7 separate regions of the Homo sapiens genome follow, and all the other regions are linked to region 1. The links are contacts of gene promoters, found by promoter capture Hi-C in blood cells and fetal thymus (Javierre and others, 2016). All regions are on one chromosome and are shown on one strand. Each heading gives the region's core, a stretch centred on a gene start or on the middle of the fragment in contact. The rest is flanking DNA. Distances are from core to core; before and after follow the strand shown. Region 1 holds the start of MTDH (metadherin). Region 2 has its middle 5.0 kb from the start of INTS8. Region 3 overlaps INTS8 (integrator complex subunit 8). Region 4 holds the start of CCNE2 (cyclin E2). Region 5 has its middle 5.2 kb from the start of RNF19A. Region 6 has its middle 5.2 kb from the start of NDUFAF6. Region 7 holds the start of LOC105375669 (a long non-coding RNA gene).

Evidence for each region. Contacts are between HindIII fragments. The CHiCAGO score rates a contact against its expected background, and 5 or more counts as called.
Region 2: a fragment that was not itself captured here is called in contact with the fragment with the promoter of MTDH in region 1 in 1 of 17 cell types (non-activated CD4 T cells); the score reaches 5.6 in non-activated CD4 T cells.
Region 3: a contact is called between a fragment that was not itself captured here and the fragment with the promoter of MTDH in region 1, in 1 of 17 cell types (total CD4 T cells). The highest score is 5.0, in total CD4 T cells.
Region 4: the fragment with the promoter of CCNE2 here is called in contact with the fragment with the promoter of MTDH in region 1 in 4 of 17 cell types (fetal thymus, total B cells, activated CD4 T cells and 1 more); the score reaches 14.9 in fetal thymus.
Region 5: a fragment that was not itself captured here is called in contact with the fragment with the promoter of MTDH in region 1 in 1 of 17 cell types (fetal thymus); the score reaches 5.8 in fetal thymus.
Region 6: a fragment that was not itself captured here is called in contact with the fragment with the promoter of MTDH in region 1 in 1 of 17 cell types (naive CD8 T cells); the score reaches 8.8 in naive CD8 T cells.
Region 7: a fragment that was not itself captured here is called in contact with the fragment with the promoter of MTDH in region 1 in 1 of 17 cell types (fetal thymus); the score reaches 7.5 in fetal thymus.

Annotation. Positions count from the first base shown.
Region 1 is chr8:97,642,903-97,645,450 of GRCh38, reverse strand. MTDH (metadherin) reads right to left here and starts at 1,267. Exons shown (of 12, transcript NM_178812.4): 1 at 564-1,267. The coding sequence starts at 944. RefSeq lists silencers at 138-306, 590-659, 930-1,389, 1,570-1,679 and enhancers at 1-436, 437-1,417. The HindIII fragment of the contact is 3,502 bases long and covers 1-2,052 here.
Region 2 is chr8:94,817,005-94,819,552 of GRCh38, reverse strand. No RefSeq gene overlaps it. Among named protein-coding and RNA genes, the nearest start is that of INTS8, 5.0 kb to the left of the region's middle. The HindIII fragment of the contact is 7,350 bases long and covers 1-2,548 here.
Region 3 is chr8:94,847,361-94,849,908 of GRCh38, reverse strand. It overlaps INTS8 (integrator complex subunit 8), which reads right to left. Exons shown (of 27, transcript NM_017864.4): 11 at 377-447. Among named protein-coding and RNA genes, the nearest start is that of INTS8, 25 kb to the right of the region's middle. The HindIII fragment of the contact is 1,689 bases long and covers 419-2,107 here.
Region 4 is chr8:94,893,920-94,896,467 of GRCh38, reverse strand. CCNE2 (cyclin E2) reads left to right here and starts at 1,267. Exons shown (of 12, transcript NM_057749.3): 1 at 1,267-1,291; 2 at 2,221-2,260; 3 at 2,349-2,445; 4 at 2,524-2,548. The coding sequence starts at 2,247. It also overlaps a transcript of NDUFAF6 not described here. RefSeq lists silencers at 178-227, 398-447, 578-677, 1,058-1,277 and an enhancer at 1,894-2,455. The HindIII fragment of the contact is 5,265 bases long and covers 1-2,548 here.
Region 5 is chr8:100,313,863-100,316,410 of GRCh38, reverse strand. It overlaps a transcript of RNF19A not described here. Among named protein-coding and RNA genes, the nearest start is that of RNF19A, 5.2 kb to the right of the region's middle. RefSeq lists enhancers at 198-257, 278-337, 2,521-2,548. The HindIII fragment of the contact is 466 bases long and covers 1,043-1,508 here.
Region 6 is chr8:95,018,555-95,021,102 of GRCh38, reverse strand. It overlaps a transcript of NDUFAF6 not described here. Among named protein-coding and RNA genes, the nearest start is that of NDUFAF6, 5.2 kb to the left of the region's middle. The HindIII fragment of the contact is 2,619 bases long and covers 1-2,548 here.
Region 7 is chr8:100,218,088-100,220,635 of GRCh38, reverse strand. SPAG1 (sperm associated antigen 1) reads right to left here. Exons shown (of 19, transcript NM_003114.5): 13 at 205-357. It overlaps LOC105375669 (a long non-coding RNA gene), which reads left to right and starts at 353. Exons shown (of 3, transcript XR_928450.3): 1 at 353-1,537. The HindIII fragment of the contact is 1,993 bases long and covers 277-2,269 here.

The DNA.
Region 1 (2,548 bases), core at 18-2,517:
ACAAGAATGGGCAACCATTTCCCTTTAACAGTCCCAACTAAAATGGAAGCGCGTCTAGACCTGGACACCTTTAATCCTGTGTAAGCCCCAGAATTTCTAGGTCACCGCACTTCTTCCACTGCCTACTGTCTCAATGTGACTTGAGATAGACATCTGTCTTCCGAGCGCAGTCTTTATACAACTTCCTAACACCACCTTAAGGTCCCATTACGCTCCACATGCAGCCTACTCTGCAGGCCTCAAGGAAGGATGCTGTGCTTATTCTAGCGGTGACGGTTCCCAAAGATGGCTTGACCTCTGGGCGCCTATCTGAACGGACCCCCAGACCTCCTAACTTCCTTCCTCGAAACTGGGCTTCCCCACTCGTCCTATACTTCCTGAGTTCCCCCCATTCCCCAAATAACATGACCACCTATCACCTCCTCCTCCACTTGGGAGTGCTGCCTCTCGGCTTTCGACTAAGCACTCTTTTCCTTCCCGGCTGGGGCGCGGCCTCCCCCAAGCTCGAGGGTCTCCACGCCCGCCCTTCGCCCGTTCTCTACTGCCGCTCATCCCATACTCACTTTGGGCTTCTCGGACAGTTTCTTCCGGTTCTTCTTCTTCTGTTCCTCGCTCCGGAGATTCTTCAGCAAGGCCAGGTCGTCGGGGGCCGCGGCCGGCACGGCCGCCGCCTCCTCCCGCTTGCGGGGCGGGCTCCTCCGCTTTTTGCGGGCGCCGGCGCAAGCCGCGGCCCAGCCGTAGCCCAGCAGAAACAGCAGCAGCAGCCCGAGCGCGCCAGTGCCCACCAGGATCACCCAGCCGGGGTACCGTTTCGGCTCCAGCCCCAGGTCGAGGCCCAGCTCGGTGCGCAGAAAGCCTAGGCCGACCGAGAGCATTTCCCGCAGCCGGGCCGAGCCCTCCTCGGCCTGCTGGGCCAGCTCGTCCTGCCAGCTCCGTGCAGCCATCTTCCCTCCCGTCAGAGGGACTCGCAGGATGACGCCGGGGCGCGGAGACGCAGTGGAATAGTCGAGGGAAGCGAGGAAGGGCCGGGCCGGGTAACCTCAGGCCGAGCGCATCGCGGCCGTCCCTCGCGCCGGAGCCGGGGATCGGCCGCTGCCACCGCGGGGAGGGCGGAGGGGTCTCCCAGGTTCCCCGCTGTCAGCCTCACTCCGCCGCCGCCAGGAGACCCGGGAGGCGGGAGGGAGTGTCTCCAGTGGCGGCCGCTAAGCGGCGTCTCGGCGCCAGCGCCAGGCCCCGCTGTCCTCCCTCGGCGGAACAATGGCGGCTTGGGCCGCGATCCACGCCGCGCGCGGGGACGACCGTGGGTCACGTGGGCGCCAGTGGGCGGGGCGTGGGCGTCACGTGGGGGCGGGCGGGGTCGGGTGGGGCAAAGGCGTGTCAGGGAAGGTTGGCGGTGGTCGGTTCGGGCCTGGTTAAGACGCGGCGTTGGGGACCCGTTACTGTAGACCAGAAGCTGGGAGGGGTTAATTGGTGGACGCCTTCGCGGGGTGGCTGGTGGCGCAGAGTTAGGAGACGTGGCGCAACGAATGAGTACAGAGGAGGGGCTCCGTGCAAGGCGGGGGCGGGCGGGGGGCGGGTAGGGCTGCAGCGCTAGGAACCGGGTCACCGGGTCTAGGTCAAAGTCGCCCTGGCAGGTATAGGGCTCTTCATGCCTTTTTCTGGAGTGTTATTGAGGTGGAATCGCTTTTTCTCCCTGGTGGCGCCAGTTGGATCCTTCCAGAATGAGCTCAACGGAGTCTGACGCCGAACACTGTTCTTCCGGGACCTAGGTTTAGTTCACAAATTGGGTATTTCTCTCCAGGGTGTTTCTCTCCAGGGCAACTAATACACTGCGTGCCTACCAGTTGCCAGCCTGGCGAGGGCACGTTTGCGTCGTTTGGCTCATTCACTCTTGCTCTCTGTTGTTAGTCCCCAGAATTCAAAAGTTGGAAAGCCCGTGGGCGGCACTATTCTTTTCCTACTAATTTGTAGCTTTAATAACACATAAGGGGAAGCACATTAGATTGTATTTACTTATGGAGGGAGCTTTCTCGTTACGTTTTATTTTAAGCTTTTCTACAACACTGCAAAAGGGGTTTGCAAAAATTCCATTTTTATATGCTATGTTGACCATCTCTGGGATGCAGCTATAGAAGGAAACGAACTGCCTTTTCAAATTTTTTTTTTTTGAGACAAGAGTCTCGCTCTGTCGCCCGGGCTGGAGTGCAGTGGCACTATCTCCGCTCACTGCAAGGTCCGCCTCCTGGGTTCAAGCCATTCTCCTGCCTCAGCCTCCCGAGCAGCTGGGACTATAGGCACCCACCACCACGCCCGGCTAATTTTTTGTATTTTTAGTAGAGACGGGGTTTCACCGTGTTAGCCAGGATGGTCTTGATCTCCTGACCTCGTGATCCGCCCACCTCAGCCTCCCAAAGTGCTGGGATTACAGGCGTGAGCCACCACGCCAGGCCTTCAGGTTTTAATTATAAGGGAAATGCTTGAAGGCTGCCTTAGGGTTTTAAGATTATATTTTGCTATAAGGAAACTCTGTATTTTATCGGTAAATGAT
Region 2 (2,548 bases), core at 18-2,517, 2.8 Mb after region 1:
AGGTATGTATCCAAGAGAAAGGAGAAAATGTACCCACACAAAGACTTGAATGTTTAGAACAGCAGTATCTACAGTAGCCTAAAAGTAGAAACCAAGGTCTATAACCTGGTGAATAGACAAATAAAATGTGACATACTCATTGTATCTGTTTCAAGTGGCTGCTGTAACAAATTACCACAAACTTTGTGGTTTAAAACAACAGAAACTGGCCGAGTGCAGTGGCTCACGCCTGTAATCCCAGCACTTTGGGAGGCTGAGGTGGAGAGTCCAGGAATTCAAGACGTATCTGGGCAGCATAGTGAGACTTCTGTCTCTACAAAAAAATCAAAATAAAAAATAAGGCTGGGATGGTGGTGTGCGTCTGTAGTCCTGGCTATGTGGGAAACTGAGGTGGGAGGATTGCTTGAGCCCAAGAGGATGAGGCTACAGTGAGCCGAGATTGCACCACTGCACTCAGGTGGGTGACAGAGTGAGACCCTGTCTCAAAAAAAAAAAAAAAAAGAAAAGAAAGAAAGAATGAGAACAGACTGTGGTCATTCAGACTTGGGTATTTAGCAGACATTTTCTTGAACAAAGTGAGCCTGTCATGTCACTTTATGGAAAACAACTAACACCATTTGTGGCGAATAATAACATTCAATTTTTTTTTTTTTTTTTTGAGATGGAGTTTTGCTCTTGCTGCCCAGGCTGGAGTGCAATGGTGCTATCACCGCTCACTGCAACCTCCACCTCTCAGGTTCAAGCGATTCTCCTGCCTCAGCCTCCCGAATAGCTGGGATTACAGGCACTGCCACCACCACACCTGGCTAATTTTTCTATTTTTAGTAGAGATGGGGTTTCACCATGTTGGCCAGACTGGTCTTGAACTCCTGACCTCAAGTGATCCTCCCACCTTGGCCTCCCAAAGTGCTGGGATTACAGACATGAGCCACCGCTCCTGGCCAACATTCAACTTTTTAAGTAAAATTAGAATTTTAGAAAACTGTAAACTTGGCAGCTTCCCAATACTTGACAAGACTTTTCTGATGACACCAATGGCGATATTAACAAATGTATATTTAAATGTGTCAACTTTCAGATGATCATCACAACTTGACAAATCAATCAATATTTTCCTAATATATGGCTAAAAGATTTATTTAAATTCCAAGACAAGCCGAGCACAGTGGCTCATGCCTGTAATCCCAACACTTTGGGAGGCAGGGGCAGGATGATCACTTGAAACCAGGAGTTGGAGACTGCAGCGAGCTATGATCATGCCACTGTACTCCAGTCTGGGTGACAGAGCGAGACCCTGCCTCTTAAAAGTAAATAAATAAAAAATTTCAGCTGGGCACGGTGGCTCATGCCTGTAATCCCAGCACTTTGGGAGGCCGAGGTGGGAGGATGACGAGGTCAGGAGTTTGGACCAGCCTGGCCAACGTGATCAAACCCTGTCTCTATTAAAAATACAAAAATTAGCTGGCATGGTGGCAGGTGCCTGTAATCCTAGCTACTCAGGAGTCTGAAGCAGGAGAATAGCTTGAACCCGGGAGGCAGAGGTTGCAGTGAGCAGAAATCGCATCACTGTACTCCAGCCTGGGCGACAGAGCAAGACTCCATCTCAAAACAAAACAAAACAAAAAATTTCAAGACAGACTGATGAATTGTAATGGAACGGAATTTGAAAAGTTAATTGGTATGATTTCAGATTTAAAATTGCAGCTAATCTTTAAGAAACAACCACTTTCTCAGGTTTTGGTGAAGAAAGTCCATAATTATCCGAAAAGATATAAAATACTTCTTTTTTTAACTACTCATCTATGTGAGCAATGCCACTCTTCTAGTTTTTAAAATGAAAATAGTTATTTTATATAAAATTGTATTTGTCAGCATGTAATAGGATTATTTTTATTTTTATATGATTATTTTATTTTAATTTAAATAAATTAAATATTTTTAAAACTTCTCAGTGTTAATTTTTAATATGGTAAATATAAACAAACACTCTTTTAAGTGCTTAATAATTTTTTGGTCTAACAGGGCCCTGAGACTAAAAAATCTGAGAAACTATTTTATTGAGGCATGCACATCAAAATCCTACTGTGTTTGGCTCTGAAGAGAAGAGGGAAGGAGGATAGAACAGGGGTGGGTTAGAGAAGGGGAGAGGAGAGGTGAATGGGGGGAAGGAGTGGGGGAGGGGGGTCACAGGTACTTCAACTTTATCTGTATTTTTTTTTTTTGAGACAGAGTCTTGCTCTGTTGCCCAGGCTGGAGTGCAATGGTGCGCTCTTGGCTCGCTGCAACCTCCACCTCCCAGGTTCAAGTGATTCTCCTACCTCAGCCTCCAGAGTAGCTGGGATTACAGGCACGCCACCATGCCTGGCTAATTTTTGTATTTTTAGTAGAGACAGGTTACACTATGTCGACCGGGCTGGTCTCGAACTCCTGACCTCAGGTGATCTACCCGCCTCAGCCTCCCAAAGTGCTGGGATTACAGACGTGAGCCACCGCACCCCGTTCTGGTTTTTGTTTGTTTGTTTTGTGATGGTATCTCTCTGTTGCCCAG
Region 3 (2,548 bases), core at 14-2,513, 2.8 Mb after region 1:
AGTAAGAAATATTGTAAAACAAAAAAGTGTATAATTTAGTTTGAGAAAAACAATCATATCAACCAATTTTAATAAGCCATTTAAAAAGCCACCATTACATAAACTGTATAATGATATTTTAAAATAGATTTTAAAATTTCCCTTTGGTCCTTATTTAAAATTGTGATGTCAATGCCACAATATTAAAAAAAGGTAACTATATAATCCTAATGTCTCACGTGGCTATACAAATTTGAACTTAATGGGTTCTCAAACACCAGTTACTGCCTGGTTAAAAGATACCCAAGACAAAAACAAAAGATAATACAGATATTTTGTTCACAGGACTAAGTTCAAAGTTAAAAAAAAAAAGAAAAAAGAAAAGAAAGGTACTTACTTTAGAAAAGCAGCCATGTTTCCTTTCAAAGACTCTGAAGCTTTTTCTAAATTTACTGATCTTGAACATACCTAGGAATTTGAGTAATTTTCATTTGAATATGGGTACTTATAAAAATGTAAATTATAATTTGAAAAGGCTGGATTTAAAAACAACTGAATTTTCCTTTTTCAACAATGTACCAATCACAGATTTAGTTAAGTAACTTAACAGAAGAGACCAGACCAAGGAATAACAATCCATCACAAAGAGGGAATGGAATGTGACCATTTTAATAAGTGCAGGTGTATACATGTAGCAAAGAATAACCTAGTTACCATGCTATACAGTTCTCACAGAATTTATCAACTATGTTGCCAAATTATATTAAGTGATAAACCATAGAAATCAGTAGCTCCTGTCAGAAAAGAGTTAAAAAAATAAAAAATTTTTAAAACCAAAAAGAAAATAATTGAAAAGAGTAAGTGATTTATCATGAATATAGAACTAATGGTTCTATATTCATGAGCTATTCATGAATAGTTAAAAAGGTAACCAAGGTTTAAAAAGTAAACAATGCAAACAAAGAATAGAAACTAGTTATGGTCATATTAGTTATCTACAAATAATATTTTCATATTATGTTGAATTTATTCATTAGATTAGGATTCCTCCTAATATATTATTTATAAGAAGCCAAAATAAAATATAACTAGTGTAAAAGTCCATAATCTCAAGAAATTGCTAAATATTTTTTACGTTGACACACACACAAAATAGAATGTTCATAGTAGTATTAATCATAGTAGCCAAAAAGTATAAGTAACCTGCAGTCTACCAACTGATGAATAAACACACAAAATACAGTATATATCCATTCAATTAAGTATTATTCAGCCATAAAAAGTGAAGTACTGATACATGCTACAATATTGAAAACGTGCTAAGAAGCCAGTTACAAAAGATCATCTATTTCATAGTTCCATTTACATAAAATATCCAGAACAGATAAATCTATAGAGAAATTAGATTAGTAGTTGCCTCAGGTGGTGCGAGATTGAGGGAAAATGAAGAGTGACAGGTAATGAATAAGAGATTATCTTTTTGGAGTGAAAAAAGGAAGTGAAGTGATAGCTGCACAACTCTAGGAATACACTAAAACGCACTGACTTATACACTTTAAATGCGTGAACTGTATGGTATGTGAATTATATCTTGATGAAACTGTTATTAAAAAAACAGGCTTGGTGCGGTGGCTCCTGCCTCTAATCCCAGCACTTTGGGAGGCTGAGACAGGTGGATCACCTGAGGTCAAGAGTTCCAGATCAGCCTGGCCAACATGGTGAAACCTCGTCTCTACTAAAAATACAAAAAAAATTACGTGGGCATGGTGACACGGGCCTGTAGTCCCAGCTACTTGGGGAGGCTGAGGCAGGAGAATCACTTCAACCCAGGAGGCAGAGGTTAGAGTGAGTGGAGATCAGGCCACTGCACTCTAGCCTGGGAAACAGAGAGAGACTCCATCTCAAAAAAAAAAAAAGCAGTGTTTTAAAAGTGCTATGTTCAAATACCATTTTCTGATTAACAAATTAACCTATCAGTAAATAACATCTGAGCATCTTGGAGTATGTATTATACACTTACATTCTAATAACTTTGTTTCTTTGCTGCCATATGTAAATATCTTATGGTGAGTAATAAATATCTGAGTCTCCTTTTACAACAGATTATTTATTCACATAGTGAGAAGCTTTGTACATGTGTCATGGAACAATGTAGGGAACATGTAACTTCTAATAAGCAAACCTAACAGATCATGTTATGTGAATTTCATGCACTTCAATTTAAAAAAAGAAAAACTCAAACTAGTGGGCATCTCTGTAGATGCTTTAATATTAAAATAATAAATTTTAATACTAATAAACTTAAGATGAAATGGACAAATCCTTAGAAAATAACTTCTTAAAACTAACTCTAGAAAAACGAGAATATAGTTCTATGATCACTGATCAAAAACCTTCCCACAAAAAAATTACCCAGGCCCAGACTTTACTGGTAAATTCTACCCAACACTGAAAGAAGCAATGACTTCATTTTTACACAAACTTTTCCAGACAATAAAAAAGACAGATGCCTCAACTTATTTATAAGGCAAGCATGACCTTGACACCAAAATCAAAGGAAGGACAAGAA
Region 4 (2,548 bases), core at 18-2,517, 2.7 Mb after region 1:
GATGTGCAGTTTTGGGGTGCGCCAGTTGTGGGGGCATTCATAGAGGCAGCGAAGGGACCCCTAAGTTTAAACACCCGGGGAAGGATAAAGGAAGAGCGTCGGGCCCCCCTCCTCCCAACAGCGCTCGGGCGCGAACGGCGCCCTCCCGCGCTGCCGGCTCGCGCGGGCTCCGCAGGGCGCGCTGGCGGCGGCGGCGGGGCGGGGCGCGGCAGGCGGGCCCGGGGCCTGCACGTGGTGGCGATCTTTCTTCCCACCCGGCCAGGTCCCCGGGGACCACCGCGCTCAGGGGGAGGAGGAATGCCGTTCCCGGGCCCCGCTCCGGAGAGGGGTTTTACCCTCTGGGATCCCGGAATTGGAGGTGGAGAAGAGAGGAAGCAAGGGAGGGCGCGGCGTGGCGCGAGCGTTTCCTGCGCGGGGACTGCGGGGTGGCAGCTGGAGGCCACTGCAGGGGCAGAGCGGCGGGTTGGGGGAGCGACCGACCCATGGGGAGGGAAACCCGGTAGGGGGAGCAGGGAGCCGGAAAGCAGGGTTGATACATACCTGGGTGGGCGGGCTGGAAATGCCTTCCCTGGGCGCGCCGCGCAAGGCCGGCGGAGCGGGCTCCGGGTGGTCGCGGACCGGGACTGGGGAGAGCAGAGCCGCACTTGGCCAGGCGCGTGGCTGAGTGGTGTTTACATTCTGCAGCCACTCCACGTTGTGCTGCCGCCCGTGCCTCCCATTGGCCAGCTCTTCAGCCAACGCTTTGCTCCTCCCCGAGGGGCGGGCCCTCGGGTCCCCGCGTCGCTCAGGAAAGACCTGGGTTCCCTGAGGCCTTGGCGGGACAGCTAGGGCGCGCCCCTGGACGGTCACTTCCCAGCCACCCTATGGTCGCCCGAGTCGTGTCCCCCTGTTATGCGCCCGGGCTGAGCCGCAGGCTGACACCCCCGAAATCCAGGAGTTGCAGTGGGAGGAAGCAAAAGCAAACTGGCGGGAGATGCGCGAGCCAGGCGGCGGGGAGAACAGCCGCGGAGAAGGAGCCCCTGAGAGTTTCCCTACCGCCGCCGGCCGCGCCGTGGAGCGCGGTGGACGCGGGCAGAAGGCCCGGTAGAGTGGACCCCACGGCCGCTCCGGGTGGCGGGCGCGCACTGAGAGCAGGGCGCGGCGCGCGGGCACGCGGGCGGACGGGCGGGAGAGGGGAGCGCGCTGTCCGGAGGTGTCAGTCTGAGGCGCATGCGTGCGGGGCGGGACCGGCCCGGCCTATATATTGGGTTGGCGCCGGCGCCAGCTGAGCCGAGCGGTAGCTGGTCTGGCGGTGAGGAGTTGCTGCGCGTAGGGGGGATGTGGGAGGAAAGAAAGCCCAGTTGGGCCGATCACTTACCACAGGCGGGAGCCTCAGGGAGGAAAATCGGGAGGGCTGAGAACTAGACGACTGGGGGTCATGGGTTCCCGCGTTCCGTCCCTGTCAGGAACCTTGGCAGGGGACCGGGAAGCGGCTGGGCATGGAGAGCCGCCCCTCATTCTAGGGGCTTCTCTATCCCACCCTCATTTGGGGAGCTATCCCGTGGGAGAGAGGATGGGAGGCCGGGTCCCCTCCATGGGGAGAAAAGTTCCCAGCCAGCCCAGTCTCCCCTTTCTTTAGCTCCTTTTCCTGCCCTCCCCCACGCCCTCCGCTTCCCATCTGGAGTTGGGGTCCCGGCGCCCCTCCGAGCGGCGGTAGGGCGGCAGGGCCGGGAAGGAGGGAAAGGAGACTGGAGGCCGTGACACCAGTCTTGGTTCCTCCGCCCCCTGCTTCCCCGCCACCGCCGCTCTCCAAATTGGCGCGGAACCGGCTTCTCCACAGCATTTCGCCTCCACAACCCCCTCTCCCCGCTGGTCCAGGAGGGAGGCGGGACGTGGGGGCGCTGCCCAAGCCCCACTCCCGGTGTACGGGGGAGAGGGTGGAGGACCCAGAAAAACCCGTTTGAGGAAGATGTGCCTCCCTGCGCGTTCAAGGTGTCAGGAGTGCTTGGTAAATTTTTGGACACTCGCGTTCCAGCTGTACATTCAGTTGAGGAAATGCAGGCTTGTATCCAAAATGAATTACCATGAGCTAGCTAACATAGCACAGAAGATGGCAGGGTCACAGGGCCCAGGCCCCCTTCGGAGGGACTGAGCTTTCACCTGCGAATCAGCGTCTTACTGGCACTTGGAGAATGTGAATGACAATGTACTTGACTGCGGCTTTTCCTCTCCCCCCTTCAGAGGTTTTATACACCTGAAAGAAGAGAATGTCAAGACGAAGGTAACATTATCTGTCTTAGAGACATGTTTCAAATTAGTTGCTGCCTTTAACTTACTAATTACACTTCCTTTTTAAAAATTCACTACAGTAGCCGTTTACAAGCTAAGCAGCAGCCCCAGCCCAGCCAGACGGAATCCCCCCAAGAAGCCCAGATAATCCAGGCCAAGAAGAGGAAAACTACCCAGGTGATTTAAGGAGAAAGAGGGAGGAACGAAATTCCATGCTGGGACTTTAGTTTACCAATGGTCTTTTCTATTTTCCAGGATGTCAAAAAAAGAAGAGAGGAGG
Region 5 (2,548 bases), core at 26-2,525, 2.7 Mb before region 1:
GGTGGGGCCAGATAAGAGACTAAAAGCAGGCTGCCCGGGACAGCAGTGGCAACCCACTGGGGTCCCCTTCCACACTGTGGAAGCTTCGTTCTTTCGCTCTTTGCAGTAAATCTTGCTACTGCTCACCCTTTGGGTCCACGCTGCTTTTATGAGCTGTAACACTCACCGCGAAGGTCTGCTGCTTCACTCCTGAGCCAGCGAGACCACAAGCCCACTGGGAGGAAGGAACAACTCCAGACACGCCGTCTTAAGAGCTGTAACACTCACCGCGAAGGTCTGCAGCTTTACTCCTGAGCCAGCGAGACCACGAACCCACCAGAAAGAAGAAACTCCGAACACATCTGACCATCAGAAGGGACAAACTCCAGATGCGCCACCTTAAAAGCTGTAACACTCACCGCAAGGGTCCACGGCTTCATTCTTGAAGTCAGTGAGACCAAGAACCCACCAATTCCAGCCACACTTATGCTGTGGTTCTCAAACATGTGATATGAATTACCTGGAGAGCTTGTGGAAAACTAGATTCTAGCACCCCAACCCCATAGAAAATGAGTCTGTTAGTCTGATATGAAACTCAGAAATCTATTTTAACAAGCAAGATTAGCCAGGCATGGTGCCACACACCTGTAGTCCCAGCTACTCAGGAGGCTGAGGTGGGAGGATCGCTTGAGTCCAAGAGGTCAAGGTGATCGCACTGCACCACTGCACTCCCACCTGGACAACAGAGTGAGACCTTGTCTCAACAACAACAACAACAACAAGACGACGAAGAAGAAAAATTTCCATGACCCTGCTGGGAAAGAAACTGAATCAATTTGGAAATCAGTATATTTAGTCACATAAGGACAGGTAAGGAGGAGAGTCAAGAAGTAGCACATTCCAATGATCAATTGTGCTGAAAGAGAATCTCTTTCTCCCTGGACAAGGCCCCAGACTGCCTCCCTAAGCCAGGTGAAATGATGGTGGAGACTAAAGCCCCCAAGCTCCCATTCATTCCTGGTTGCATTTTTCCCCCCCAGTGAAACAAACATAAGGCCAAGCTTCTTGCCTTTGATGTCCTGAAGCACAATTAATGGTACCTTGTCCTGTGTCTATATCATATGTACTTTATTGGCTCTTATATTAGAGTGAGTATACATAGATCATCCAGGCTGGAGTGCAGTGGTGTGATCTTGGCTCACTGCACCCTACAACTCCCAGGCTTAAGTGATCCTTTCACCTTAGCCTCCTGAGTAGCTCGGACTACAGGTGTGTGCCACCATGCCTGGGCACACGACAAAACTCCTAGAGATGGGTTTTGTCATGTTGCCTAGGCCCAAATCATCTGCTTGCCTCAGCCTCCCAAAGTGCTGGGATTACAGGCATGTGCCAGCACACTGGCCTAGAGTGATTTTCTCGATGTCAGTTTCCCTGGCAAGTTTACAAGCTGCTCAAGGGGAGGGACGATACTTTACCATATTGGTGTCTCGCAGCACCTAGGGAAGGCATGTCATGTGCATAGCTAAGCTTCTGTGCCTGCTTCCTCTTTCTCTCACTAGGTGTCAGGCATTAAGTTCTCTACCTTCAAAGTTTAGTGGGAAAGGCCTACAAATAATGACAATGAAGTACTTTATACAGAAAAATTATAGAGGTAAGCATGGTTGTTGTGGAGCTAGGGAATGTGAGCTTGATTTAGCCTGTCAGGACCAGTGAGAGTTGATAGAAATGAGCCAGGCAGAGGAGAGGGGAGGGGGCATTTTAGGCATAGTAGCATCTGCAAAGCTAGGTAGTACCTACAAAGAGAAAGAAAGTTAGCAGGGTGTGTGAGAAAGAGAAGAGAAGGAAGACAGGAAAGGATGGGGGGATTTGTGGTACTGCTAGTACCTTACTGTGGCTAAAGAAATGTTCACTTAGGCTGTGACACCAGGGAAGGGGCCAGGGGTAGGTTTAAGAGAAGAGCATGAGCTCTGGAGCCAGCCTGCCGGATGGTCCAAATCCCAGCTCTGCCACTTAGCTACGTAACTTTCAGCAAATTACTTAAACTCTTGTGCCTCAGATCCTAATTTGGGAGCTTTAGGGATTCTTGATGATAAACTAAGTGGCTTAATACTTATAAAGCAATCAGAATAGTGCCTGTCATATAGTATATGTACTCAATAAAAAGTATATATAGTATGTGTACTCAATAAAGTGAACATATAGTGTACTATATATAGTATATATAGTATGTATGCAATAAAGAGTAGTTCTCGGCTGGGCACGTGGCTCATGCCTGCAATCCCAGCACTTTGTAAGGCTGAGCTGGGCAGATTACTTAAGCCCAGGAGTTCAAGACCCACCTGAGCGACATGGCAAAACCTCGTCTCTACAAAAAATACAAAAATTAGCCAGGCATGGTGGCATGTGCCTGAAGTCCCAGCTACTCATGAGGCTGAGGGGGGAAGATTGTTTAAGCCCAGGAGGTGGAGGTTGCAATGAGCCAATATTGAGCCACTGGGTGACAGAGTAAGACTCTGTCTCAAAAAAAAAGTAGTTCTCTTTCTCTTTACTTGCCACTTTTATTCCATTC
Region 6 (2,548 bases), core at 30-2,529, 2.6 Mb after region 1:
GTAGAAAGACAAACCCAACAAAAATGGTGTGATTCAAGACCTAAATCAAAGTAAGCCGCAACCCAAGGCTTTCCTGAGATTTGGGGTTATAGGAGGAGAGCTCTAAGTTTGTCCTTGTCACCACAAAAGTTCTAATGCCCTTTTTCCCTTTCATGAACCTCTACTCATCCCCCAAACACCTAATTAAACACCTCTTCCTTCCTGAATTTTCCTTGACCATAACCCCATCCAAGAAAAAAAGAGTTGTTCCCCCAGTTTTGATCCTATAACAATTTGTGTTCATGTTTGATCACTTTGCCAGGTCTTACTGTGGTGATCTGCTTATATGGCCCTCTTCCCAGACTGCCAAAGGTAGATGTTTTCTTACTCCTCTTTTTATCTCCAGTGCCTGGCCAAGTGCCTGGCATTGGGAGGTGTTAGTGTATCGTTCTGAAGGCCAAGTTTTTTGGCACCGGAAATAAGACACCAGGTTATGCAGTGTGTGCACTGCACAAACATGCCTGGCTAAGGGAGCAAGAGGGGCTGGTGTGGGCTGGTGTGGCATTGTCTCTGCTCAGAGGAAGGGTAGCCTTTCTCTTCACACAGAGAGGCATGTGCCTGCAGGGCTGCCTCAGCCCAGATGGGGACCTTCTCATTTATAACAAGGCACCATACAGGCTTGCAGTCTTAGTGACTGAAAGAGCAAATCAGACTCAGCAAGTTTAAGAAGGGCAGAATATGAAGAAAATACAAAGTTGAAAGGAATATTTCCCCTTGTGAAGGGTTTCCACTATTCGTTTAATAGTCAAGCCTTACAGTTATCTGATTTTAAGGAACCTATTATCAGCAGCTATGAAAAAGAGGAACTTGAATGCATCATGCTTTTTGGGTAGTTTACTTATCCTCAATTACCTTTGTTTTTTTGAGACAAAGTTTCACTCTTGTCGCCCAGGCTGGAGTGCAATGGTGCGATCTCCGCTCACTGCAACTTCCACCTCCCGGGTTCAAGCAATTATCCTGCCTCAGCCTCCCAAGTAGCTGGGATTACAGGCACCCACCACCACACCCAGCTAATTTTTGTATTTTTAGTAGAGACAGGGTTTCACCATGTTGGCCAGACTGGTCTCAAACTCCTGACCTCAGGCGATCTGCCTGCCTCGGCCTCCCAAAGTGCTGGGATTACAGGCATGAGCCTTCATGCCTGGCCCTCAATTACCATTTTTTTAAAAAATATAGAATTGTACAATTTTAGATTTGAAAGAAAGTCATCTATCAATTCAATAGTTTTTGAGCATTTAGTACTGGTTATACACGTAGTATGGAAGGGGCACTAGAAACTAACAAAATTAGCCAATGTCAAATACCTATTAGGTGGCATATTTTTCATTTGCTAAAAGGACACCTACACACTGTTCTCTCAGAAACAAGAAGAGGCAAAGTGGTCACTATGTTATGCAATTGCAGTTTTATTCATTTCACTCTTTGGTTTCCACTATGATCTTATATTGCCAATTTTTCAATACCAAAGCTGTCATTTCTTTAGGTTTTTTTTCTCTTATCTTTTCACACCTACCAAAAATGGACCATCAGCCATTCTGGGGCATACCTGCGAAATGTTCCATAGATTTAATGCATACAAAATCACATGTAGGAAGAGGAAGATTGATGATGACCCCTACATAAGACACAGACAAGACTTGTCATAGTTGTCACATGGGTATGGTGGGTTGTCTCTGCACAAGTTGTTTCTAATTACAATAAAGAACTAAAGTTTGAAAATACTATTGTTTGCTTTGTGTATATATTAGAGATGAGGCGGGGTGCAGTGGCTCACGCCTGTAATCCCAGCACTTTGGGAGGCCAAGGCAGGCAGATCACTTGAGGCCAGGAGTTTGAGACAGCCTGGCCAACATGGCAAAACCCTGTCTCTACTAAAAATACAAAAATTAACTGGGCATGGTGGCGCAAACCTGTAGTCCCAGCTACTTGGGAGGCTGAGGCAGGAGAACCGCTTGAAGCTGAGAGGTGGAGGTTGCAGTGAGCCAAGATCATGCCATCGCACTCCAGCCAGGGTCTAGAGCGAGACTCTGTCTCAAAATAAATAAGTAAATATATATATGAGATGACTCCAAGTTATCCTGATGATAATGTCATTTTCAACATGGGAGAGAAATGGGTGGAGTTACAGCTATGTACCAGAAACCACAAATACCTTGCCTATGCCATAGCCCCTAAGTCAAGTACCCAGGGAATATAGCATATCTGTGATCATCACCCCATCACCCATTGTGTGTATTGTAGGGGGAAGTGGTTAGGAGCCTAAAGGCTTATGATGTCATTTCTTCTTCTTTCTTCATCTTGTCCTGTTCCTTCTCTTTCTCATTTCTCTTTTGGCACCTGAATTGGTTGCTGTCCACTAATGTACCAAGATCAGTTCAATCAGTTCAATACAATTTGTGTTTAATGGGCATCTTTATGCCTGTGTTTTTATCCCAATGTCTGGGTTGCACACCCCCTCTTCCCACCCCCACCTGTCTTCTCAGATGTTTTCTTGTCTGTCCCCACAAAA
Region 7 (2,548 bases), core at 24-2,523, 2.6 Mb before region 1:
AGGACAAGTCAGAATTAATTAAGGGAGAGTCAGAAATTAAGTTAAGGGAGAGAACCATTTGATGTAATGGAATAAAAGAAGGCAATCATTCAGGTGATAAAAGTAACTGATAACACATCTATATTTTGACATGTTCTTGAAGGAGGGGAAGGGAAAAACAGTATAAAACAACTAGATTTTAGGTAGCTGCCTCAGATTAATTACCTGTTAACACTGTCATTTGCTAGCTGGAGTCCACAGTCTATCTGCAACACTGTTTTATAATCCACATAAGCTTTCCCATACTGCTCTAGAGTTTCATAGGCCATCGCCCGCCTCAGAAGAGGTTTCATAGAGAATGGATGAAGTTCCAGAGCCCTAAAGAAGACAAAAATATTACATACCATTTGTTTTGAAAAATGCTCTTTCGTTTATACTTCACTGAATAGATACTGCAGTACTGAACTCTCAAATATGTACACATCCGAGACTTCGTCTTGGGAACCAGGCAACATGCCAGAAAGGCAAACCCAGAGTAAGAAAGCAATCATATTTGTGTTCCTTTCTTTTAAACCAGTAGCAAAGCACTCTGCATTTACTCTTTCCCACTGAGCCGGGAGCTCCCTGGCAGCATGTCCTGGCCTCCCCAGTCCCCTAACAGAGCAGCATGGCACAAGGCACACAGCAGGGTTTCAACAGATTGTCGTTGACAGATTAAAATGAAAATTCTTATTTGCACCTATGTATTTAATAATAAAGTACAGAACCATAAAAGTTGCATCACATTTTGAAAATCGGCACTCTAAAACTTATTAGTTCATTATGATTCACTTGCTGCAAAAGGGCTTCAAAAACAGACCAAAGGGGAATCAAGGAACTAAACCTACAATGATTTCTTCTAAGTTATGAATTTTCATCTTGCACGTTTTAGTCTATGAAGTGTTTCCAATATCACTAAAGATGTATCTCATGGTTGTGTTTTTTGGTTTTGTTTGAAGTGTTTAAAGCTACTTCAGCATTTAACGTACTTCATTATATTCTGAAGTAAAACAATAAAAAAACTGTACATATAATCCTCGATTTACAATATGGTTATGTCCCAATAATCCCATGGTAAACTGAAAATATGTTAAGTCAAAAGGCAGCGCAGAGCCTTTGGTTAAGGAATCACAAATCTGTATTTATGAATGAAAACTATAGTACTCTTGGTTTTAACAAAATCAACAGAAGCTGCAAAGAAGTCCTCCATGCAGAGATCCTATGAAGAGCCTCCTTTCTATATAACCTAACTAACATCTGCACCAGACTGTCCACATTGAAGATGGTGGATTTATTCTTTCAACTCATGCTATAAACAGTTAATATAACAAGTATTTAACTTTCCAGGAAAGCATGAGCAAGGGCTGCTTTCTTTAACTTGCTGTTTTTCCGATACTCTTAGAAATCTGCTGTCTATTCCTGTCTACAATGATTCAGCAATGAGGAAACATTGACAGAGTATCTGCTATGTGCTAGTCACTGTAGACTTCCCCATCTAATCTCACAACAAACCTGTCAGGTAAATATTAATATGTTCATTATGTGGGTGAAGAAACAGAAACATGAGGAGTGACATGCCCACAGGTCAGTTCTTTCTAATGTGAGCTTCAGGAAGGCAATTGGCATTGCCTGTCCTGAGCACCACTATATTCCCAGTCCTAGATCACCTGGGTCATGAGAGGCACTCAGCAAACTTCTCTGTGAGCCCTCAAAAGCCTACACTCTGCCTACCGCAGTACACATACAAACACTGCAAATGAAGGAACTCTTGAGTCATTTGCCACTCAGACCACATCATACAGATACTCAGCTGCACTTGTGGGAGCCCTTCTGGCATATCATAGAAGTTACTCTAGAAATGCTGTTAAACCTAATCTGCTTCACTTCTCTGAAAAAATAACCAATTTCACTCTGCCTAGGTGTTAGGATTGTGAGTGATTTTAATGATAGTCTTTGTGCTGTGCTAGTTTTTTCTTAAGTTTTCTATAATAGGTAAGTGGTTTTTTAAAACAGTAAATGTTATTTAAAATATAAAATTAAAATCAAGTAAACATATTTCAACACTAGAAAATAGATCTGTGGGCATCAGGATCTGTCACCTGTACCACTGCCTTAAATTTAGCTTAGTTTAATGTTTAGGTAATATTAACTCTATGAGCAGAGTCACAACCATGTGACTACCTTCACTTCACAGAAGACTTCCAATGACCAAGGTGCCATTTATCTATTCAAGATGGCCTTAAGCCAAGCTTGGGATCTAAAACTGATGAGATGCTGTATTAATTTTTAGCACTTTCTGCCCAGTAAATTTATTTCTTTAACTACAATCCTGAAAATGAATATGAACTTATGAATGGAAATTCCATTAAGGAAAAAAACCACCCATGTATAAAAATAAGCACAGAGAACTTTTGAAGCAGAGCTTACAAAAGAGGCTATCTATTCAAGGTAACACAGTTAAGACCCTAAAAAATCTTCCAATTTCAAGACTGTGAGAGTAGCAAAGATAAGAAAAAGCAGAGAACTGGCC